7 separate regions of the Homo sapiens genome follow, and all the other regions are linked to region 1. Evidence: promoter capture Hi-C in human tissues and cell types (Jung and others, 2019). All regions are on one chromosome and are shown on one strand. Each heading gives the region's core, a stretch centred on a gene start or on the middle of the fragment in contact. The rest is flanking DNA. Distances are from core to core; before and after follow the strand shown.

Region 1 (3,347 bases), core at 282-2,781:
GCTGGTCTCGAACTCCTGGACTCAAGCAATCCCCTTGCCTCAGTCTCCTAAAGTGTGGAGACTACAGACTACAGGCGTGAGCCACTGTGTCCAGACCCTCTTTCTTCATTACTGTGCTTCCCTCCCTAATTCTGTACATATCTCTCATTCTCCCCTTCTCTCTCTAGCTCTTGTTTTCTTTTCTTTTTCCCTGGGATTCTGCTCTTCATTTTGTACCCCTCTCCTCTCCTGCTATTCATCCCCTTCTTCCCTTTATTCCTTCTCTTCCACCTCTTCTCCTCCATCCTCACAACTTATTTAACCTCTTATTGCTCCTTCTCCCCAATCTTTCAATCGTCCTCAATCTCCATCTATTTCTGCCTCTTCTCCCATCTCTGCGCCTCCTCTGCTCTCCCTGTTAAATTCCATCTTCCCCGATATACTCCCTTGTCCCCACTCTGTGTCTCCCCAGATCCCAGCTGTCCTCTCTGCTGTGGTTCTCCCTCTGTTCTCCTTGACACAAGCACCACTCTGCTCTGTCTGCCCTGGCTCCAAATCCTTCCCTCTCTCCCTCACTCTGATGAGTCTCCCTCTTTGCTGCCACTCCCCCTACCTTGTGATCCTTCATCTCTCTGTACATCTATCTAGCCTTTCTCTACATTTCTCCGGTTGCTTTTCTCCTCCTGCTTTCTTAGGTTTTTTTTTTTTTTTTTCACTTCTGCCATCTCTTGGCATATCCCTCACCAATCCTCTATTTTGCCATCTGTTATGGGCCTTTCTTATTCTTCTTTTCTCTGCCTCAGGTTTTCTACTGCTCTCTGTCTCCTGATTCCTTTGGCCCACACAATCGCAACACGGTTTGGAGTAAGACGCCTGCATCCCGGAGGAGCGCATTTTCCACGCCCTGGAGCTCCGCAGGCAAGAATACCCCGTGCCGCAGGACAGGCCCCTGGGACCTCCCCAGTGCAGGTTCAATGAAAGCGGTGACTGCGGAGGGGAGACCTGGGGAGCAGCAGGCCCCGGCATGAGGAGGAAGGTGCGGGGCGGGGGGGGGGGGCGCGACGGCGCCTTAGGACCAGGATGGGGTCTGCAGGATCCCAGGACCTGGCAGAGGACTCGGCCTCCCCGGGACTGGGGCTGCGGCGCGGCGCTCCCGGGGCTGAGGAGGGGGAGGCTGGGAGGCGCCCTGGGCAAGAATCCACATCGCGGGTGAAGACTTTAAAAAGCGCGGGGCGCGAGGAGTCAGAACAAGGTTTTCAGCAGGAAAACTACGCAACAGAAAGTGTATACATTGACCTATAGCAGAAAGACCGGGGACGAGACCAGCCTCAGGACGACTTTAAACCCAAAAGGAAGCGACCCTCGGGCTCTCACGGGGATGTCTCAATTTGCTCTGGGCAAAGGAAGACGCCGGAGAATTTCCAGGTCTGTGGGGACCCCACGTCCCAGGGACAGAAGCCCTGGGAACCTAGTTAGCGCAGACTTAATACAACACAGAGCAAAACTCACCGCGGCGATATGACCTACACTCCACCCGATCCGCTTCCGGGTTTGCGTTAATCTGCGCGCGCAGGACAAAAGCCAGGCCTGGGCGGGAAGTGGGAGGTAGGCGGGGCCTGGGCGAGGTAGGGGCGGGGCGCGAGGCGGAGAGACCTTGCCTTTTAGAACCGGCAGAGGGCAGGGCCGGGGCGGGATCTGCGCGTCTCTCAGCCTCGCTCCCAGCGTCTCTGTTTTCAGGTTTTGGAGGCGAGAGCGCCAGAAAGTCTGAGGCATGATACAAAAGCCCTGTTGAGAGAAGAGAGAGACCCTCTGACATTGTTTTATATTGTTTTATAGTCAGTAAAAACAACAGGAAGTAAAACCAAAGACAGGCAGCCCCGCGCCAGGCCCGAAACCAGGCCTGGATCCGCCTGGCCTAAACCCAGTAGTTAAAAATCAACTTATGATTTAGAAGCTGATGTTAGGCATAGATTCCAGACATTGTATAGAAGAACACGGTGAAACTCCTGCCCTGTTCTCTCTCTCCCTGATCACCGGTGCATGCAGCCCCTGTCACGTATCCCTTGCTTGCTCAATCAGTCACTATCCTTTCATCTGAAATCTTTAGTGTTGTGAGCCCTTAAAAGGGACAGAAATTGTGCACTCGGGGAGCTTGGATTTTAAGGCAGTAGCTTGCCAATGCTCCCAGCTGAATAAAGCCCTTCCTTCTACAACTCGGTGTCTGAGAGGTTTTGTCTGCGACTCGTCCTGCTACACTGTAATTGTCTGGAACAGGGATACAAACTAGAATGTGAAATGCAAAGCCCTGCCTGGGCGGTATGTACCATGTCATGCTGAGGTCCCACAGAACAGATAGATATCCTCTCCCTTTCTATTGTCCATTCACTCCGGAAGGAGACTCCGCCCTGTGCTCAGCTTCAGAGACTTCCCTGAAGCCACCGCCTGGAATGCCGGACGGAGTGCTCAGGCCGAGAAGGAGTGAGGTCACCACCTGCTGCTTAAAGACAGCAGAGGCGCGGGGGCGGGAGCCTGAGGTCCCAGCTACTCAGGAAGCAGCGGCGGGAGGATCCCTGAGCCTCGGGTTCCAAGCCAGCCTGAGCGACAAAATAACGCCCACTGCCGCGGTCTCCCTTTCTTGTCTCTCTCTCTCTCTTTTTTTTTAAAAAAAACTTTCGCAAATAAAATTTTTGATTGTGTGACATAGGGATCCAACATTATTCTTTTCCATGTGGATATCCAGATAGTTGTCCTAGCACATTTATGGAAGAGATCTATTACTTTCTTGTATTATTATTATTATTATTATTATTATTATTATTATTTTTGAGACAGAGTATTTCTCTGTTGCCCAGGCTGGAGTGCAGTGGCGAGATCTCGACTAAATGCATCCTCTGCCTCCTGGGTTCAAGCGATTCTCCTGCCCCAGCCTTGGGAACAGCTGGCATTACAGGCGTGCGCCACCATGCCAGGCTAATTTTTGTATTTTTAGTAGAGACGGGGTTGACCATGTTGACCAGGCCGGTATCGGACTCCTCACTCCAAGTTATTTGCCTGCCTCAGCCTCCTAAAGTGCTGGGGTTACGGCGTGAGCCAACATGCCTGGCTAATTTTTTGTATTTTTAGTAGAGATGGGATTTCATCGAGTTAGCCAGGACGGTCTCTATCTCCTGACCTTGTGATCCGCCCGCGTCGGCCTCCCAAAGTGCTGGGATTACAGGCGTGAGCCACCGCGCCCGGCCAGAAATATTCTTTTTTTTTTTTTTTTTTTTTTTAAACGGAGTCTCACTCTGTCGCCCAGGCTGGAGTGCAGTGGCGCAATCTCGACTCACTGCAAGCTCCGCCTCCCGGGTTCACGCCATTCTCCTGCC
Region 2 (3,347 bases), core at 343-2,842, 750 kb before region 1:
ACCCCTTCTTCCACCCCCCCACCCTCCTATCTCTTTTGCCTAATAAATACGGAGGGCTGTGTAAAGCTCAGGGCCCTTGTCCACTAGAGGTAAGGTGCTCCCTGACCCCTTCTCCCAAATATACTCTTTTGTCTCCTGTCTTTATTCCCACGTTCACCCCCATTTGTGCAGTCCCATGGGTCCATGTGGGTTACGGCCCGCCACCGCGCCTGGCTGATTTTTGTATTTTTAGTAGAGATCGGATTTCAGCATCTTGGTCAGGCTGGCCTTCAACTCCGGATCTCATCACACACCCGCCTCAGCCTCCCCACATGCGGTTATTATAGTTGATATGTCTGAACCAAAATGATATGGGAAGCTTGAGAATAAAAGGTTGGAGACAATATGCCACAGAGAGAGTAACCAAAGATAATCTGTTATAACTATATCTCAGACAAAACTGACCAGAAATCCTAAAGAATTAACAGAGAGAAAGAGAAACAATGCTCACTGAAAAGAGGTGAAATTTGGCTCTTCATTCATAGAAATACACCATATGTATACCCCTAACAACAGTCTTGAAATGTATACAGCAAAAAATAGAACCAAAAACAAGAAATAGAAAATTCAGACTAAAGACTTTAACAGACCTTTCCTAGTAACTGACAGAACAGACCATCAACAAACAAAATAAAATTTATAAATGAGAAAGAAATGAATCTTTTATCTGAGGAATGTGACTCCCTTTAAATTATCAGGTCTAGAGAGGCATTAAAATGTGACAGCAGTCTTTCTGATAGGGGTTCCCCTGAAAAAAAGAAAAAAGAAAAAATTAAAAACTAAAAAAAAAATTTAATGTGACAATAGTCACATCTCATTTCCCCCTCAAGCTAAATAATTATCTCTTAAAGCCACTTGCTATGTAGGCTCTAGACTAACTCACACTGAGTAGCCATAAAATGCCATTCACTGGACATCCTAACTCATAAAACCCCATAGTTAACAATGTACAGCCAATTGTTAATTGATATTATTTCTGTAAACCAATGAGAATTCTTGCCAAACAACTTTATGTCAGCTCACGGTTTGTTCCCTTTTGACTTTAAAACCTGTTTCTAACAAAATCCTAACAGAGCACTTAACCAAGGCAACCTGAAAGTATTTTCCCAGGCAGCTGTCCTCATTTTGGCTCAAGTAAACTCTTTAAAATTGTATTTTGTGCAGTTTCCTCTTTTAGGCTGACATAAACGATATCATTTAGAAGAACTCGAATATATTTTTAAAATTAGATTTACTGAGATAAATTTTAACAGTTTTAAATAAATGCAAAGATGTACTATAAAGATGGGCTGGAAAACAAAGCATTTTAAAAATGTCAAGTCTCCCAAATCTACAGATTCAATGAAATCACAGTCACAATCCCAAACTGATACTGAAAAGTTTAAATAGCTATAAACTTTTTTTTAAAGTTTGAAAAAAAAGTTAGAAGACTTGCCATATCAGTTATGAGGACTTATAAAGCTACTTTAATTAGGACAGCACAATATTAGTACAATAACAGGCAAATAGGACAAAGGAACAGAATAAAATCCTTATAAGCAGAATTAAGCACATATAGAGACTCAATGGCAATGATAGCACTACAGGGAAGTAGATAAAAGCTGTCTTTTCAATAAATGGAACTAAGGGCGCCGTGGCTCACGCCTGTAATCCTAGCACTTTGGGAAGCTGAGGAAGGTGTGGGGGAAAGAGAGATCAGACTGTTACTGTGTCTATATAGAAAGAGGAAGACATAAGAAACTCCATTTTAATCTGTACAAAGAAAAGTTCCTCTGTCTTGAGATACTGTTAATCTGTAACCCTAGCCCCAACCCTGTGCTCAGAAACGTGTGCTGTGTTGGCTCAAGGTTTAATGGATTTAGGGCTGTGCAGGACGTGCTTTGTTAAAATGTGTTTGCAGGCAGTATGCTTGGTAAAAGTCATCACCATTCTCCAGTCTCAAGTACCCAGGGACACAATGCACTGCGGAAGGCCGCAGGGACCTCTGCCCAAGAAAGCCTGGGTATTGTCCAAGGTTTCCTCCCACTGATACAGCCTGAGATATGGTCTCGTGGGAAGGGAAAAACCTGACCATCTCCCAGCCCAACACTCGTAAAGGGTCTGTGCTGAGGAGGATTAGTGAAAGAGGAAGACCTCTTTACAGTTAAAATAAGAGAAAGCCATCTGTCTCCTGCTCCTCCCTGGGAATGGAATGTCCCGGTATAAAACCCAATCATACATTCTATTTACTAAGATAGGAGAAAACCACCTTATAACTAAAGGTGAGACATACTGGCGGCAATACTACTCTTTACTACACTAAGATGTCTGTGTAAAGTCAAACATAAATCTGGCCTACGTACACATCAAGGCACAGGACCTTTCCTTAAACTTATTTATAACACAGAGTCCTTTACTCACATGTTTTCCTACTGACCCTCTCCCCACCATTACCCTATAGTCCTGCCACACCCCCCTCACCAAGATGGTAAAAATAGTAATCAATAAATACTAACAAAACTCAGAGACCAGTGCCGGTGTGGGTCCCCCATATGCTGAACACCAGTCCCCTGGGCCCACTTTTCTTCCTCTGTACTTTCTCTCTGTGTCTGATTTCTTTTCTCAGTCTCTCATTTCCACCTTGCAAAAAATACCCACAGGTGTGGAGGGGCAGGCCCCCTTCAGGCAGGTGGACCACTTGAGCCAGAGTTGGAGACCAGCCTGGCCATCATGGTGAAACCCCATCTCTACTAAAAATACAAAAATTAGCCAGGCAAGGTGGCACCTGCTGGTAATTCCAGCTACTCGGGAGGCCGTGGCACAAGAATCACTTGAGCCCAGAAGGCAGAGGTTGCAGTTGAGCCAAGCACGCCACTACACTCCAGCCTGGGCGACGAGAGCAAGACTCTATCTAAAAAAATTAAAAAAAAAAAAAAAAATCAATAAATGGTACTGGGGATGGGGACAGAAAGTTAAAACCCCCCTCACAACATACACAAAAACCATTTTAGAATCAACTGTCAATTTCAATGGTAGAAACATATCAATAAAGCTTTAAAGAACATTAATATAGGAGAATCTCTCAATGTTATTAGGGTATGGCCAGATATTTTAAAGAGGCCACATAAAGCACCCTATAAAGCAAACTATATCCTGCTAGGGGAACTGTAAGTGGTACAACCACTTTAGAAAACAGTTTGACATCTATTTAGACGGAGTTTATACACACTCTATGAAGCAGCAATTTTCCTCCGAGGTGCACATCTAGATATACATCTCTGCCTCCCCCATATGAGAGCACATATGAACCAAAAGACATTTACACAAAT
Region 3 (3,347 bases), core at 208-2,707, 720 kb after region 1:
CTTGAAAGACATAGGAGAATTCATACTGGAGAGAAACCATACAAGTGTAATGAGTGTGGCAAGACCTTTAGTCGGAAGTCATACCTCACATGCCATCATAGACTTCATACTGGAGAGAAAGCTTACAAGTGTAATGAGTGCGGCAAGACCTTTAGTTGGAAGTCATCCCTTACCTGCCATCGTAGACTTCATTCTGGAGAGAAACCTTACAAGTGTAAGGAGTGTGGCAAGACCTTCAATCAGCAGTTAACCCTTAAACGCCATCGTAGACTTCATAGTGGAGAGAACCCTTACAAATGTGAAGATAGTGACAAAGCTTACAGTTTCAAATCAAACCTTGAAATACATCAGAAAATTCATACTGAAGAGAATCCTTACAAGTGTAATGAGTGTGGCAAGACCTTCAGTCGGACGTCATCCCTTACATGCCATCGTAGACTTCATACCGGAGAGAAACCTTACAAATGTGAAGAATGTGACAAAGCTTTCCGTGTGAAATCAAACCTTGAAGGACATAGGAGAATTCATACTGGAGAGAAACCTTACAAGTGTAATGAGTGTGGCAAGACCTTTAGTCGGAAGTCATATTTTATATGCCATCATAGACTTCATACTGGAGAGAAACCTTATAAGTGTAATGAGTGTGGCAAGAACTTTAGTCAGAAGTCATCCCTTATATGCCACCATAGACTTCATACTGGAGAGAAACCTTACAAGTGTAATGAGTGTGGCAAGACCTTTAGTCAGAAGTCAAACCTTACATGCCATCGTAGACTTCATACTGGAGAAAAACAAGTGTAATGAATGTGGTGAGGTTTTTAATCAACAAGCACACCTTGCAGGTCATCATAGAATTCATACTGGGGAGAAACCTTAGAAATGTGAAGCATGTGATAAAGTTTACAGTGGCAAATCAAGCCTCAGAAGACAGGAGAATTCATACTGGAGAGAAAGCTTATAAATGTGAAGAATGTCACAAAGTTTACAGTCGCACATCAAACCGTGAAAGACAGGAGAATTCATACTGGAGAGAAACCATAAAAATGTAAGAGTTTGTGACAAGGCTTTTGGGCATGATTCGCACCTGGCACAACATGCTAGAATTCACACTGGAGAGAAACCTTACCAGTGTAATGAGTGTGGCAAAGCCTTTAGTAGGCAGTCAACACTTGTTTACCGTCAGGCAATCCATGGTGTAGGGAAACTTTACTAAGGTAATGATTGTCACAAAGTCTTCAGTAATGCTACAACCATTGTGAATCACTGGAGAATCCATAAGGAAGAGAGATCATACTAGGGTAATAAATGTGGCAGATTTTTCAGACATTGTTCATACCTTGCAGTTCATCGGTGAACTCAACGCTGGAGAGAAACCTTACAAATGTCATGACTGTGGCAAGGTCTTCAGTCAAGCTTCATCCTATGCAAAACATAGGAGAATTCATACAGGAGAGAAACCTCACATGTGTGATGATAGTGGCAAAGCCTTCACTTCACACCTCATGAGACATCAGAGAATGCATACTGGACAGAAATCTTACAAATGTCATCAATGTGCCAAGGTCTTCAGTCTGAGTTCACTCCTTGCAGAATATGAGAAAATTCATTTTGGAGGTAGTTGGTCCATATGCAATGAGTAGAGCAAACCATCAAGCATTAATTGACATTAGGGTCAATTCAGCATTGACTTGAGTTTGTATTGACTTAACATTGAGTTCAAGCATTAATTGACATTAGTGTTTATGTTAAGAGGATTGGGCCAGGCACATCAGCTTACACCTGTAATCTGAGCGCTTTGGGAGGCCAAGGTGGGTAGATCACTTGAGGTCAGGAGTTTGAGATCAGCCTGGCCAACAGACGTGAGCCATTTTCCCAGCCTGTTTTTTGTTTCTTTAAAAAAACTGATAGGGATTTTTATGGATATCATGTTGAATCTAAATCACATTGGGTTATTATATAATCATTTCACAATATTAATTTTTCCAAGCTATCAATATGGGTTGTAGCTCAATGTTTTTAATCATTTTGATCAATGTTTGTAGATTTCAAGGTACAAACTTCTGACCTTTGTACGTTTATTTCTAAGTATTTCTTTAAGTTCTCCAGCAAATGGAAGTGTTTTAAAATTTTCTTTTAAAATTGTTTATTGTTAAAGTATGGAAATTCAACTAATTTTTGGTGCTGATACTGTATTGTGCAAATCCACTGACTATGTTACTTAGTTCCAGTAGTATTTTGGTTGGCTCTTTGTGATTTTCTACACAGAAGATTATGTCATCTACAAACAAATATAATTTTACTTCTTACTTTCTGATTTGGATGAGTTTTATTTCCTCTGCTATTTCATTGCTCTGGCTGGGACAGCCAGTATTGATTGAATAGAAGGGGTGAGAGCATTCTTGCATCATGTGAGAGCCTCCAGGAAAGGCATTACATTTTCCCTGCTTGACTGTTTACTCATTGGTCATTTCATGGACGGTCTTTCTATTGTTGAGGTAAATTTCCTTTTCTGTCTATTTTGTTTAGGATTTCTATGATGACTGGATTTTGAATTTTGTGAAATGCTTTTTCTCTATTAAGATGATGTGGTTTTCATCTTTTGTTCTGTTCAAGTGGTATATCACATTGATTTGCTTGAATATGTTGAACCATCCTTGCATCCCAGAAATAAGTGGCACTTGAATATCTACATTTTTTTAATGTCCTCTTGAATACAGTTTTCTAGTACAATGGATCTTGAAGAAGTTCATGGAAAAATACCTATTATGAGAAAATTTGCATGAATTTTAGTTTTTGCAACAAAACACTGGTACAAGTCTGTTATGTCTGAACAGGCTGTAGTTTAAGGCACTCAGAAGGATAAGACATGAGTTTGAAAAGAGACTCTATCAAAGCAATATAAATTCTGCTAAAATTGAAACAAGAAGAAACATCAAATTTACGATGAGATCAGATGCAGTGTCTCAGGTCTATAATCCCAGCACTTTCAGAGGCCATGACAGGTGGGTCACATGAGCCCAGGTATTCAAGACGAGCCTGGGCAACATGGTGAAACCCCCTTGTCTACAAAAAATACAAAAATTAGCTGGGCATGGTGGCATCTGACTGCAGGGCCAGCTACTGTGGAGTCTGTGGTGGAGGATGGCTTGAGCCTGGGAGGTCGAGGCTGCAGTGAGCTGTGGTCATGCCACTGCACTCCAGCGTGGGTGATGGAGTGAGATACTGTCTCAATAAAAGAATAATTATGGGCCGGGCGGCGTGGCTCAATCCTGTAATCCCAGCACTTTGGGAGGCTGAGGCGGGTGGATCATGAGGTCAGGAGATTGAGACCATCCTGGCTAACACGG
Region 4 (3,347 bases), core at 462-2,961, 650 kb after region 1:
TGGTGGGACCTTGGCTCACCACAAACTCTACCTCCTGGGTTCAAACGATTCTCTTGCCTCAGCCTTCTGAGTAGCTGAGATTACAGGCACCCGCCACCACACCCAGCTAATTTTTTTGTATTTTTAGTAGAGTTATGGTTTCACCACGTTGGCCAGGCTATTCTTGAACTCCTGACCTCATGGTCTTCCCACCTCGGCCTCCCAAAGTGCTGGAATTACAGGCATGAGCCACTGCACCCGGCTGTTAGTGAATTCTTATTCATTATAATGCTGCATATTTTTTTGACCTCATACATCAGAAGGTAGTGATCTTAACATGTATTTCAGTTCTTATATTGTGTGCTGGTGGTAAGTAGAAGTTGTGCTTTTTTCTTAACAGGGAATTGTTTAGAATTCTGCAGTTTGTATAAATGTACTTATGATTTGCTTGCTGGTTTTATGCGTTACAGTTATTTTACCAATTCATTTTTATGATTTTACATAAAGCTTTTCGGTATGTGGTATGCAATATAACTGACACAGTTTACTAGTTAATGTCACAAAGTGCCAGCGGGTGCTGTGGCTCACGCCTGCAATCCCAGGACTTTGGGAGGCTGAGGCGGGTGGATCACTTGAGGTCAAAAGTTCAAGGCCAGCCTGGCCAATATGATGTAACCCTATCTCTACTAAAAATACAAAAATTAGCCAAGCATGCTGGCATGTGCCTGTAATCCCATGTACTCAGGAGGCTGAGGCAGGAGAATGGCTTGAACCCAAAAGGTGGAGGTTGCAGTGAGCTGAGATCAGGCCATTGCCCTCCAGCCTGTTGTGACACAGTGAAACATTGTCTCAAAAATACAAAAATAAAAAAAAAATTTTAAATGTTACAATATGCCTTTTCTGCATGGATATAGGTAATTTTATGACAGTTATTCAGAAAAATATTTTTTTTTTTTTGAGATGGAGTCTCACTTTGTCATCCAGGCTGAAGTACAGTGGTGCGATCTCGGCTCACTGCAACCTCTGCCTCTTGGGTTCAAGCAATTCTTGTACCTCACCCTTGCGAGTAGCTGGGAGTACAGACGTGCACCACCATGCCTTGCTAAATTTTGTAAACTTTTCTTATCTTCTCAGTGCTATGATTATTTAACAATACAGAATTTCCATTGATTTTGGTTATCCTTACATGAGCTTGCTGTGGATTATTTACCAGTATATTATATTGTGTGGTCCTTTAGTATTTATTTGTATACAGTAAGTATGCTGTAAATATGAAGAATATATACTTTTCATTGATGTGACAGTGATATGTCTTTTGCAAACTGTTAGACACTTTAGGGTCACAGTGGAAAAATACTCCTTATTTTAGGCTTACACATGTTTGTGCCCTTCAGTGTTTTGTCATGATATTGGAAATAAGCTTTCATAATAATAATTTGAAGCACATGTAATCGCCCTTTATTTATTAAAGAATCTTACGATTTTGTGTTCCTAAACTTTGAAGATCATGTTTGGGAAGTTTAAAATCAGTATTGTCTTTTGTGTACCTATTAGTGTTTATATTTTGTAGGTATCTCTTCCAAATGCACAATGAAGGAGTTCTCATCAACAGCACAAGGCAATACAGAAGTGATCCACACAGGGACATTGCAAAGACATGAACGTCATCACATTGGAGATTTTTCCTTCCAGGAAATTGAGAAAGATATTCATAACTTTGAGTTTCAGTGGCAAGAAGATGAAAGAAATGGCCATGAAGCACCCATGACAAAAATCAAAAAATTGATGGGTAGTACAGAGCAATATGATCACAGGCATGCTGGAAACAAGCCTATTAAATATCAGCTTGGATCAAGCTTTCATTCACATCTGTCTGAACTCCACATATTTCAGCCCAAAGGGAAAATTAATAATCAAGTGGAGAAGTCTATCAACGATGCTTCCTCGGTTTCAACAGCCCAAAGAATTTCTTGTAGGCCCAAAACCCATATATCTAATAACTATGGGGATAATTTTCTGAATTATTCATTACTCACACAAAGACAGGAAGTACGCATGAGAGAAAAATCTTTCCAATGTATTGAGAGTGGCAAAGCCTTTAATTATAGCTCACTCTTAAGGAAACATCAGATTATTCATCTAGGAGAGAAACAATATAAATGTGATGTATGTGACAAGGTCTTTATTCGGAAGCGATACCTTGCACGCCATCGTAGATGTCACACTGGTGAGAAACCTTACAAGTGTAATGAGTGTGGCAAGTCCTTCAGTCAGATGTCATCCCTTACATATCATCATCGACTTCATACTGGAGAGAAACCTTACAAATGTGAAGAATGTGACAAAGCTTTCAGACACAATTCAGCCCTTCAAAGACATAGGAGAATTCATACTGGAGAGAAACCACATAAGTGTAATGAGTGTGGCAAGACCTTTAGTCAGAAGTCATACCTTGCATGCCATCGTAGCATTCATACTGGAAAGAAACCTTACGAATGTGAAGAATGTGACAAAGCTTTCAGTTTCAAATCAAACCTTGAAAGTCATAGGATAACTCATACTGGAGAGAAACCATACAAGTGTAATGATTGTGGCAAGACCTTCAGTCATATGTCAACCCTTACATGCCATCGTAGACTTCATACTGGAGAGAAACCTTACAAGTGTGAAGAATGTGATGAAGCTTTCCGTTTCAAATCAAGTCTTGAAAGACATAGGAGAATTCATAATGGAGAGAAACTGTACAAATGTAATGAGTGTGGCAAGACCTTCAGTCAGGAGTTATCCCTTACCTGCCATTGTAGACTTCATAGTGGAGAGAAACCTTGCAAGTGTGGAGAATGTGACAAGGCTTACAGTTTCAAATAAAATCTTGAAATACGTCAGAAAATTCATACTGGAGAGAAATGTTATAAGTGTAATGATTGTGGCAAGATCTTCAGTCATACGTCATCCATTGTATACCATCATAAATTTCATAGTGGAGAGAAACCTTACAAATGTGAAGAATGTGATGAAGCTTTCAGTTTCAAATCAAACCTTGAAAGACATAGGAGAATTCACACTGGTGAGAAACCTTACAGGTGTAATAGGTGTGGCAAGACCTTCAGTCATACATCATCCCTTACATGCCATCATAGACTTCATACTGGAGAGAAACCTTACAAATGTGAAGAATGTGATGAAACTTTCAGATACAAATCAAATCTTGAAAGACATAGGAGAATTCATAATGGAGAGAAACCGTACAAGTGTAATGAGTGTGGCAAGACCTTCAGTCAGAAGTCATGCCTTACACGCCATCATAGACTTCATACTGGAAATAAATCTTATAAGTGTAATGAGTGTGGCAAGACCTTCAGTAAGGA
Region 5 (3,347 bases), core at 419-2,918, 630 kb before region 1:
GAGACAAGCCTGGGCAACATGGCAAAACCCCATCTCTACAAAAAAAAAAAAAAATTAGCCAAGGGTGGTGGCATGCACCTGTAGTCTCTGCTACTCGGGAGGCTGAGGTGGGAAGATTGCTCAAGCCTGGGAGGTGGAGGTTGCAGTGACCTGAGATCACACCACTGCACTATTGCTTGGGCAACACAACCACTCTCTCTCAAAAAAAAAAAAAAAAAAAAAACATATATATTAGATAGATAGATTCAGACAGTTTTTATTTCAACACTGAATGTTTACTTTTGAAACTCCTGACGTTTAAGTTGATAAAAACTCAATTTTCCCCATGCTAAAAACTTTATACATGTCCTTTCTTCATGCATACATAGAACCCTTCACACAATATAATTGTTGGAAGTGTTTCTGAAATACTGTTTAGACAAATTACCTATATTTTTACACCTGTACTATAAAATTAATATCTAACAGACAATAAATATTAAATTATTTAATAGAAGAATTATTTTTCAAAGGCTAATGATTTCACAGCTGTAGCAAAACTTTTTTCTTTTTTTTTTTGAGATGAGGTCTCACTCTGTTGCCCAGGCTGCAGTGCAGCGATGTAATCACACCCCACAGCAGCCTCCACCTCCCCAGGCTCAGGCAATACCCCAACCTCAGTTTTTGTATTTTTAGTAGAGATGGGGTTTCACCATGTTGCCCAAACTAGTCTAAAACTCCTAGGTTCAAGCGATCTCCCCACCCCCACATTCTAAAGTGCTGGCATTGCAGGCGTGAACCACTGTGCCTGGCCAAAATGTAATTTTAAAAATAATTTTTAAAATCATTATACAATTTCCTAGAAACGATTTAATCCAATTTAAAGATTTACATTTCTTTCCTTGTACTTCAGTGAAAAACTTATAGGATTAGTAAATCAAGGTGGTATTTTCAGATTTGTATGGCAAAAAAATATGCGGAGACCTGACAGATGTAAAGGATGTATTCTATCAATATATGGAGGGTCCCTTACATTTTAAGTTCAGTGAAAGAACTGGAATGATACAAGATAATGAACTAAAATTGTATAATGTAAAAGCAAGAGCTCTGTTGCTAATGTACAGCTGTATCAGTTGGATTTTTAAAAACCCAACATACTAATTTGGCAGGGTGCGGTGGCTCATACCTGTAATCCCAACACTTTGCGAGGCCAAGGTGGATGGATCACTTGAAGTCAGGATTTCGAGACCAGCCTGATCAACATGGTGAAACCCCATCTCTACAAAAAAATACAAAAATTAGCTGGATTTGGTGGCATGCACCTGTAGTCCCAGCTACTTGGGAAGCTGAGGTAGGAGAATTACCTGAGCCCAGGAGGTGGAGGTTGCAGTGTGCTGAGACTGTGCCACTGCACTCCAACCTGGGTGACAAAGCAAGATCCTGTCTCAAAATATTATAACATGTGACAGTGCAGCTTCCAGCAGAAATAATCTGTTCCTCTTTTGCTCACACCAAATATTCACCCCCACTTCTAAAAAATATAAAAGAATAAGCCAAAATGTAACTTCAAGTCACAAGCAAGGATCTCATGACAGTCTCATGAGACTTCTTTTCATTGAGAGCCCAGTAGAGTTCTCCTCACTCACAACACTTCATTGTGGAACAGAAAAATGAAACCTGAATAAACCCTCCCATCCAGAAAAGGAAAATAAAGAAGGTACCCCGTAGTTTCTGTTTCACAGCAAATGTGCAATGTTGCTGAGAAGATGAGTCAGGGACTGATTCCACAAGGTCAAGAATGAACAACAGTCCTTTTCATGGCTACAGTTCTCCTGAGAATGTTTCCAGTCCATTGTGATTTGTTGTTCTTGACTTCACCTGATGACATCCCTAATACAGTATCAGAAAGTATGCCTTCCTTGTGCAGTAAGCACCTTTCTCCAGCTACTTCTATTTATTTATTTATTTATTTATTTATTTATTTATTTATTTATTTATTTTTAAGACAGGCTCTGTTGCCCAGGCTGGAGTGCAGTGGCACTATCTCGGCTCACTGCAACCTTCACCTCCCAGATTCAAGTGATCCTCCTGCCTCAGCCTCCAGAGTACCCAGCTACTTCATTCCCACAAAAATTTACCATCCAAAGGATTATTATAAATCTATATTTAGTTTTGTTTTTAGAAAATACTATGGACTGGTAGAAGTCTCAAAATACAACACGACTAAAAATACAGAAATTAGCCAGGCATGACAGTGTGCATCTGTAATCCCAGCTACTCTGAAGGCTGAGGCAGGAGAATCACTTGAGCCCAGGAGATGGAGGTTGCAGTGAGCTAAGATTCAGCTATTGCACTCCAGCCTGAGCCACAGAGAGAGACTCTGTCTCAAAAATAAATAAATAAATATTTTTGGTAGGAAAGCTTAAAGAAAAATAATTCTATATGAGAAAGAATCTTGTATCAGAAATTTTGTCCTGGAATAAAATGACTGATTGTATAAGAAAGATGAATGTTCAGGAAAAACAAGAAATCCCACACATGTCATGAATGGTCTGTGTAAGTCATAATAAGATTGATGAAAAAAAGTTTTATGTGATCAAATTCACTATAATTAAAGGGAAATTATAATGGTCTTTCTAGAGATTGGGTTTTGATTTTAAAAAACACCACTTATACACTAAAGAATTGGTTCAAACTACAAAATTTTGTTAAGCGGTGCTTTAAATAAATTATGAAACATAATTTATTCAATGTAAAGTTCAAGTTTTATGGAATCTCACTGTTTTCAGCTTTCTCTCCCCTCTTAAAAGGCCTGAAATCATAACTTTTTCACCTAATTTTCAGCTCCTGTAGCCTTTTTTTCTTTGGGTTCTAACTGTTGTGGCCTGACACTATAAAATGTTTTATTTTTGAGGTCTAAAGGAAATGTTTCTTTCCAAACATAATATCTCCCATAGGGAACAGCAGTCACACTGTAGAAGGGCTTTTCTTTTGCCTTTGGAAAACTGGCCTACTAAACAGATCTCACACTTTATCAAAGTAATTCCTGTGTCAGTATTACTAAGTTTGGTTTGGTTACAAGGAAATTTAAATTAAATTTTTTTAAATTAAGTTTATTATGTCCATATAACTTTCCGTATATGCTTTTAGGTCCCTGTTCCATTCAGTTAAAGGGCTTTGACTCCTGGGTCTAAAAAGGACACCAAGTCTTGCTAAATCTTAAACACTGACAGCAGTTCAAGCCTCATCTTCAGACCCAGTAGAAGTTCCTAATCAAAATAAACTGTGTTTGTGAAACACAGGGCAAGAAATTAAAACTATTCAACTCCTCAAGTACCAGTGGTTATACTGAAAGAAGTGGACATGTG
Region 6 (3,347 bases), core at 634-3,133, 620 kb after region 1:
AATGAGTGTGGCAAGGCCTTCAGTCAGAAGTCATCCCTTACATGCCATCTTAGACTTCATACTGGAGAGAAACCTTACAAATGTGAAGAATGTGACAAAGTTTTCAGTCGCAAATCAAGCCTTGAAAAACACAGGAGAATTCATACTGGAGAGAAACCATACAAATGTAAGGTTTGTGACAAAGCTTTTGGGCGTGATTCACACCTGGCACAACATACTAGAATTCACACTGGAGAGAAACCTTACAAGTGTAATGAATGTGGCAAGAACTTCCGTCACAATTCAGCCCTTGTAATTCATAAGGCAATTCATAGTGGAGAGAAACCTTACAAGTGTAATGAGTGTGGCAAGACCTTCCGTCACAATTCAGCCCTTGAAATTCATAAGGCAATTCATACTGGAGAAAAACCTTACAAGTGTAGTGAATGTGGCAAGGTTTTTAATAGAAAAGCAAACCTTTCACGTCATCATAGACTTCATACTGGAGAGAAACCTTACAAGTGTAATAAATGTGGTAAGGTTTTTAATCAACAAGCACACCTTGCATGTCATCATAGAATTCATACTGGAGAGAAACCTTACAAGTGTAATGAGTGTGGCAAAACCTTCCGTCACAATTCAGTCCTTGTAATTCATAAGACAATTCATACTGGAGAGAAACCTTACAAGTGTAATGAATGTGGCAAGGTTTTTAATCGAAAAGCAAAACTTGCACGTCATCATAGAATTCATACTGGAAAGAAACATTAGAAATATGAAGAATGTGACAAAGTTTACAGTTGTAAATCAAGTCTTGAAAGACAGGAGAATTCATACTGGAGAGAAAGCTTACAAATGTAAGAGTTTGTGACAAGAATCTTGGGCGTGATTCACACCTGGCCCAACAAACTAGAAGTCACACTGGAGAGAAACCTTACAAGTGTACTGAGTGTGGCAAAGCCTTTAGTGGGCAGTCAACACTTATTCACCATCAGGCAATCCATGGTATAGGGAAACTTTACTAATGTAATGATTATCACAAAGTCTTCAGTAACACTACAACCGTTTCAAATCATTGGAGAATCCATAATGAGAGATTTTGAAAGTGTAATAAATGTGGCAAATTTTTCAGACATTGTTCATACCTTGCAGTTCATCGGTGAACTCATGCTGGAGAGAAACCTTACAAATGTCATGATTGTGGCAAGGTCTTCAGTCTAGCTTCATCTTATGCAAAACAGGAGACTTCATACAGGAGACAAACTTCACAAGTATGATGATTGCAGCAAAGCCTTTACTTCACGTTCACACCTAATTAGACATCAGAGAATCCATACTGGACAGAAATCTTACAAATGTCATCAGTGTGGCAAGGTCTTCAGTCTGAGATCACCCCTTAAGGAACATCAGAAAATTCATTTTTGAGATGATTGTTCCAAATGCAATGAGTATAGCAAACCATCAAGCATTAATTGGCATTAGAGTCAATTCAGCATTGACTTGAGTTTGAATTGACTTAACATTGAGTTCAAGCATTAATTGACATTAAAGTGTTTATGTTAAGAAGATTGGGCCAGGCGGGGTGGCTCACGCCTGTAATCCCAGCACTTTGGGAGGCCAAGACCAATAGATCACTTGAGGTCAGGAGTTTGAGACCAGACTGGCCAACAGACATGAGTCACTTTTCCCACCCTGTATTTTGTTTCTTTAATAAAAACTGTTACGGGTTTTTATGGGTATCTGTTGAATCTAAATCACATTTGTTTGTATAATCATTCAACAATATTAAGACTTCCAATCCATCAATATGGGTTGTATGTCTATTTAGTTTTTTTGATCAATGTAGATTTCAAGGTACAAGCTTCTCACCTCCTTAATTCAGTTTATTTGTAAGTATTAAGTTTCATAGCAAATTGAAGTGTGTTCATAAGTTTCTTTAAACATTATTTATTGTTAATGTAAGGAAATTCAACTAATTTTGGGTGCTGATTTTGTATTCTGCAAATACATTGAGTGGGTTTATTAGTATCAGTAAAATCTTGGTTGATTCTTTGTGATTTTCTTTCTTTTTTTTTTGAGACAGTCTCACTCTGTTACCCAGGCTCTTTTCTTTTTTTTTGAGAAGGAGTCTCACTCTTGTCACTTGGACTGGAGTACAATGGCACGATCTTGGCTCACTGCAGCCTCTGCCTTTCGGGTTTAAGTGATTCTCCTGCCTACTAACTGAGATTACAGGTGCCTGCCACCATGTCCGTATAATTTTTTTGTATTTTTAGTAGAGACGGGGTTTCACCATGTTGACCAGGTTTTTCTTGAACTCCTGACTTCAGGTGATCCGCCCCCATCAGCATCCCAAAGTTCTGGGATTACAGGTGTGAGCCACCGCACCCAGCCAGTGATTTTCTATATAGAATGTCGTATCATCTACAAGGAAATAATTTTTTTTTTTGAGACAATGTCTCTCTCTGTCGCCAGGCTAGAGTGCCGTGGAATGATCTTTGCTCACTGCAACCTCTGTCTCCCACGTCCAAGCAATTCTGTCTCAGCCTCCTGAGTAGCTGGGACTACAGGCGCATGTCACCACACCTAGCTAATTTATTTATTTTTTTTATTTTAGTAAAGACGGGGTTTCACCATGTTGGCCCAGATGGTGGGCCAACATGGTGAGTACCTTGAAGAGAACTTGAAAGAATATGTTAGATCGCCTAACCTCATTATCCGCCCACTTCGGACTTGCAAATTGCTGGGATTATGGGTGTGAGCCATGAGCCCGGCCCCAACAAATGTAATTTTACTTCTGTCTTTCTGATTTGGATGAGTTTTATTTCTTTTGCTATTTAATTGCTCTGCCTAGGACAGCCAGTATTTATTGAATATCAGGGGTGAGAGCATTCTTGCATCATGTGATATCCTACAGGAAAACCATTCCATTTTCCTTCATTGGTTATTTCAGCTGTGGTCATTTCATGGATGATTTTTATATTTTTGAGGTAAAACTCTACCTATATTGTTTAGGATTTTTACGAAGAATGAATATTGAGTTCTGTGAAATGCTTTTTCTCTATCTATTGAGATAATGTGTTTTTTATCTGTCATTCTGTGCAAGTGTGTATCCCATTGATTTGAGTATGTTGAACCATCCTTGCATCCCATGAATAGGTAGCACTTGGATGTTTACAATCCCTTTTTATATCCTCTTGAATACAGTTTGCTAGTATAAGGGTCTTCAAGAAGTTCATGGAAAAATACATATTATGAAAAATTTGTGCATAAATTTCACACTTTTTGTACCAAAATAAACCAGTATAAACTTGTTATAACGTCTGAACAGGCTCTAGTTTGAGGCACTCAGAAGGATAAGACATCAG
Region 7 (3,347 bases), core at 500-2,999, 610 kb before region 1:
TTCAAATGAATTGTGGAGGAGAGAAAAACACTCAGACCACAGCATTCCATCTTGCCCCACCAAAATTCATGTACTCCTCACATATAAAATGCATTCCATCCCAATGGCCCCCCAAAGTCTTAACTTTTTCTACTACCAATTCAAAAGTCTATAGTCTACAGCTGCATCTAACTATAATCTAAATCAGATATGGGTGAGACTCAAAAATGTGTTTCATCCTGAGGCAAACTGCTCTCCAGCTGTGAACGTGTGAAATCAAACGACTTAAGTGCTTCCAACATCCAACGGTGGCGTAGACACAGGCTAAATATTTCAACTCCAAAATGCAGAAACAGGAAAGAAGAGGTAGCCACTCCCATGTTAAGTCTGAAACTCAAATAGGGCACACATATTAAATCTTAAGGCTTGACAATAATCTTCTTTGACTCTATGTCCCACCTTCTAGACATCCTGGAGTAGGAGTTAGGTCCCCAGTGTCCTGGGGATCCCTGCCCCATTAGTTTTGTTGGGATCACCCACATGGAACTTCTCACAGGCTGTGGTTTCCCGAGCTGGGATCACATACTGGTGACTCTACAGTTCTGGGGTCTCAGGCGTGGTCCTGCTTCCAGGGCTCCCCTTGACCTTGCCCTAATAAGCACTCTCTAAGGTGTCCCTGCCTCCATGGCTAGGCTGAGAATTGCCTTAGTGGTGACCTCCTGTGGTAGCACTGAAAGGAACAGGATGAAAGGTTAGGGGCCACTGAGCAAAAAGATAACTGACGTAAACCGGTGTCTGCAATAACACAGAAAGACATGAGGGTGAAGATCTAGTACCACAGATATCTGCAGTACCAGAGTCTATCCACAATAGTACAGAAAATAGGGGAGCTTCTGAGTAGAAAGCAGCAAACCTCTTCAATAGGGAGATGACAAGCAAAGGCCCAGAGAAAAAGCATGGGAAGTCTCCAGAATCTAGGGTAGTTGATTGGAATGTCCTCCCTGAACAAAGCAGCCACCAAATCTGGGCAGGCAGCTGATTTTTTCAAATGCTGAAGTCACAAAAGAAGACAATAAAACATACAAAGAAACAGGGAAATACGGTCTACAAAAAGAAACCAACTGAATCTGTACAAACCTACATGAAAGAAATGGCAATTTACATCTTGGCTTTGAAGAATTAAAAAGAAATGTGGGCCGGGCATGATTGCTCACAACTGTAATCCCAGGACTTTCAGAACGCCAGGCAGGAAGATCACTTCAGAGCAGGAATTCGAGACCAGCCTGGCCAACATTATGAAACCCCATCTCTACTAAAAATACAAAAATTAGCCAGGCATGGTGGCACATGCCTGTAATCTGAGGCTGAGGCATGAGAATTGCTTGAACAGGAGGCAGAGGTTGCAGTGAGCTGAGATCCCACCCCTGCACTCCAGCCTCGGCAATAGAGTGTGACTCTGTCTCCAAAAATAAAGAAAATGCGAAGGTAGGCAGATCACCTGAGGTCAGGAGTTTAAGACCAGCCTGGCCAACACGGTGAAACCCCGTCTCTACTAAAAATACAAAAATTAGCCAGGTGTGGTGGCACGTGCCTGTAGTCCCAGCTACTCAGGGAGACTGAGGCAGGACAATTGCCCGAACCCAGGAGGCAGAGGTTGCAGTGAGTCGAGATCATGCCACTGCACTCCAGCCTGGGCGACAGAGCGAGACTCCATCTCAAAAAATAAATAATAAATAATTAAATAAAATAAAGAAAATGAAGAGAGTCTAATGGGCCCATGAAAAACCATCAAGCACCAAGAACATATGCATTCTGGGAGTCCAACAAATAATGTGAATATATCTAACATTACTGAACTTTACATAAGCAAACAAGCTTTAATGAAAGACATAATAAAGATATTATCAAAGACTGACAAACTCGATTCTTTTTGGAAGACATGGTGACATAAAGGCCTGCAACTGAAAAAATTCAGAGCCATGAAAACACAAACAAAATATGTGGGAATTTTTTTTTTTTTTAGAAGACAGAGTCTCACTGTCACCCAGGCAGGAGTGCAGTGGCACGATCTCAGCTCACTGCAACCTCCACCTCCCAAGTTCAAGGGATTCTCCTGCCTCGGCCTCCCAGGTAGCTAAGATTAAAGACGTGCACCATCATGTCCGGCTAATATTTGTATTTTCAGTAGAGACAGGGTTTCACCATGTTGGCCAGGCTGGTCTTGAACTCCTGACCTCAGGTGATCCACCCACCTTGGCCTCCCAAAGTGCCTGGATTACAGGTGTGAGCCACCACACCCGGCCAATATGTGGAATTTAAATAATATGTGGCTGTGTTGTGTAAAAGGAGAACCATAATAATTTTGGAAAGAAAATGGAGGGGTTTGCCAATCTACTTGTGAACCTATTATGTTATTTATAATCTAAAACTTTATAATCAAATATAATCTACAACAAGATATACAGAAAAATTCAAATTAAAGATTCAAGCAAATAAAATGTAAGCAACAAAATATTAGATCTTAAAAAAACACAGTATTTTATAATCACACAGCGAGCCAGGCCTTCCAAAGAAAGATCAGTTATTTATTTTTGCTTTTGTGGTATAGCGTCCTAACAGAAGCAACCACTCTTTAAACTGTCCAACCTGAAGGAACCCTCAAACACCTGTGGTGAAGAGAGCATTGTGGCAGCCATGGTGAAAAATTATAAAAGATCCATATGTCTTCATTTAGAGATTGTTCCAAAGAGGATGCAAAACAAGCTATTACTGCTTATTAACAAAAAAAGATGTATCTTTGAAAAACTGGCACAATGAAATTTCACAACAGAACATGTACTGAAGAATTGTTTTCTAAAATCTCATAATGACACGTAAATGCATCTTGACACCTCTCACTGACTCTTGCCACAGAACTTACAACTGTAGCTCCCCACGGAAACATGAGGGATGATGGAGAAAGTGACAGGGAAAAGAAACCCGGGTTCCTCCAGGTTGGGTAACTGAAAGAGTGATTGCCTCTTTAGGATGGTGCATTTCCTATTTTCCTGGATCTGGCAAGATTTCCCACTACCCTAAGGTGCAATGGTGTCCTCATACACCAACGACACATATTGGGTGGATTTCCCACCCAATAAAAAAAAAAAAAAAAAACTTACTACTATGTTCTGTTTACATTTTGAGGCTATGGGGAAAATGAAAACCCTTCGTATTTCCATTTTCCAATTCCTTGGACTGTGAGGAGGTTTCATTATTTTGTGGAAATCAAACCAAAATAATTTTCATTCTTTGCTCAGTTTTCCTTTACTGCATTCTAGGAGCCATTTCATATTCTGTAGTTAAATTTTTAAAATATATATGCCTTGATG

Evidence for each region. The method cuts DNA at HindIII sites, captures the fragments that hold promoters and counts their contacts. A contact is called where the count stands out against the background at its distance.
Region 2: a fragment that was not itself captured here is called in contact with the fragment with the promoter of ZNF611 in region 1 in 1 of the 25 tissues and cell types used here (stomach).
Region 3: a fragment that was not itself captured here is called in contact with the fragment with the promoter of ZNF611 in region 1 in 2 of the 25 tissues and cell types used here (aorta and hippocampus).
Region 4: a fragment that was not itself captured here is called in contact with the fragment with the promoter of ZNF611 in region 1 in 1 of the 25 tissues and cell types used here (small bowel).
Region 5: a fragment that was not itself captured here is called in contact with the fragment with the promoter of ZNF611 in region 1 in 1 of the 25 tissues and cell types used here (stomach).
Region 6: a contact is called between a fragment that was not itself captured here and the fragment with the promoter of ZNF611 in region 1, in 3 of the 25 tissues and cell types used here (hippocampus, liver and spleen).
Region 7: a fragment that was not itself captured here is called in contact with the fragment with the promoter of ZNF611 in region 1 in 1 of the 25 tissues and cell types used here (lymphoblastoid cells).

What each region holds. Positions count from the first base shown.
Region 1 is chr19:52,733,513-52,736,859 of GRCh38, forward strand. It overlaps ZNF611 (zinc finger protein 611), which reads right to left and starts at 1,532. Exons shown (of 6, transcript NM_001161499.2): 1 at 1,489-1,532. It overlaps LOC124904760 (a long non-coding RNA gene), which reads left to right and starts at 519. Exons shown (of 2, transcript XR_007067328.1): 1 at 519-948; 2 at 1,282-2,192. RefSeq lists enhancers at 1,520-2,505, 1,818-1,947 and a silencer at 1,568-1,637. The HindIII fragment of the contact is 18,911 bases long and covers 1-3,347 here.
Region 2 is chr19:51,981,245-51,984,591 of GRCh38, forward strand. All of the region lies in intron 1 of ZNF350 (zinc finger protein 350), which reads right to left. ZNF350-AS1 (ZNF350 antisense RNA 1) reads left to right here. Exons shown (of 3, transcript NR_103847.1): 3 at 1-123. Among named protein-coding and RNA genes, the nearest start is that of ZNF350, 3.9 kb to the right of the region's middle. The HindIII fragment of the contact is 5,256 bases long and covers 1-3,347 here.
Region 3 is chr19:53,455,948-53,459,294 of GRCh38, forward strand. ZNF765-ZNF761 (ZNF765-ZNF761 readthrough) reads left to right here. Exons shown (of 13, transcript NM_001350496.2): 13 at 1-2,314. The coding sequence ends at 801. It overlaps ZNF761 (zinc finger protein 761), which reads left to right. Exons shown (of 5, transcript NM_001289951.2): 5 at 1-2,314. The coding sequence ends at 801. Among named protein-coding and RNA genes, the nearest start is that of ZNF813, 10 kb to the right of the region's middle. The HindIII fragment of the contact is 5,248 bases long and covers 1-3,347 here.
Region 4 is chr19:53,379,173-53,382,519 of GRCh38, forward strand. It overlaps ZNF525 (zinc finger protein 525), which reads left to right. Exons shown (of 4, transcript NM_001348156.2): 4 at 1,550-3,347. The coding sequence ends at 2,847. Among named protein-coding and RNA genes, the nearest start is that of ZNF765, 14 kb to the right of the region's middle. The HindIII fragment of the contact is 5,110 bases long and covers 1-3,347 here.
Region 5 is chr19:52,100,405-52,103,751 of GRCh38, forward strand. No RefSeq gene overlaps it. Among named protein-coding and RNA genes, the nearest start is that of ZNF841, 6.3 kb to the left of the region's middle. The HindIII fragment of the contact is 3,157 bases long and covers 91-3,247 here.
Region 6 is chr19:53,352,839-53,356,185 of GRCh38, forward strand. ZNF845 (zinc finger protein 845) reads left to right here. Exons shown (of 4, transcript NM_138374.3): 4 at 1-3,347. The coding sequence ends at 750. It also overlaps the pseudogene LOC107987264. Among named protein-coding and RNA genes, the nearest start is that of ZNF525, 11 kb to the right of the region's middle. The HindIII fragment of the contact is 6,579 bases long and covers 1-3,347 here.
Region 7 is chr19:52,125,073-52,128,419 of GRCh38, forward strand. All of the region lies in intron 2 of ZNF616 (zinc finger protein 616), which reads right to left. Among named protein-coding and RNA genes, the nearest start is that of ZNF616, 13 kb to the right of the region's middle. The HindIII fragment of the contact is 6,561 bases long and covers 1-3,347 here.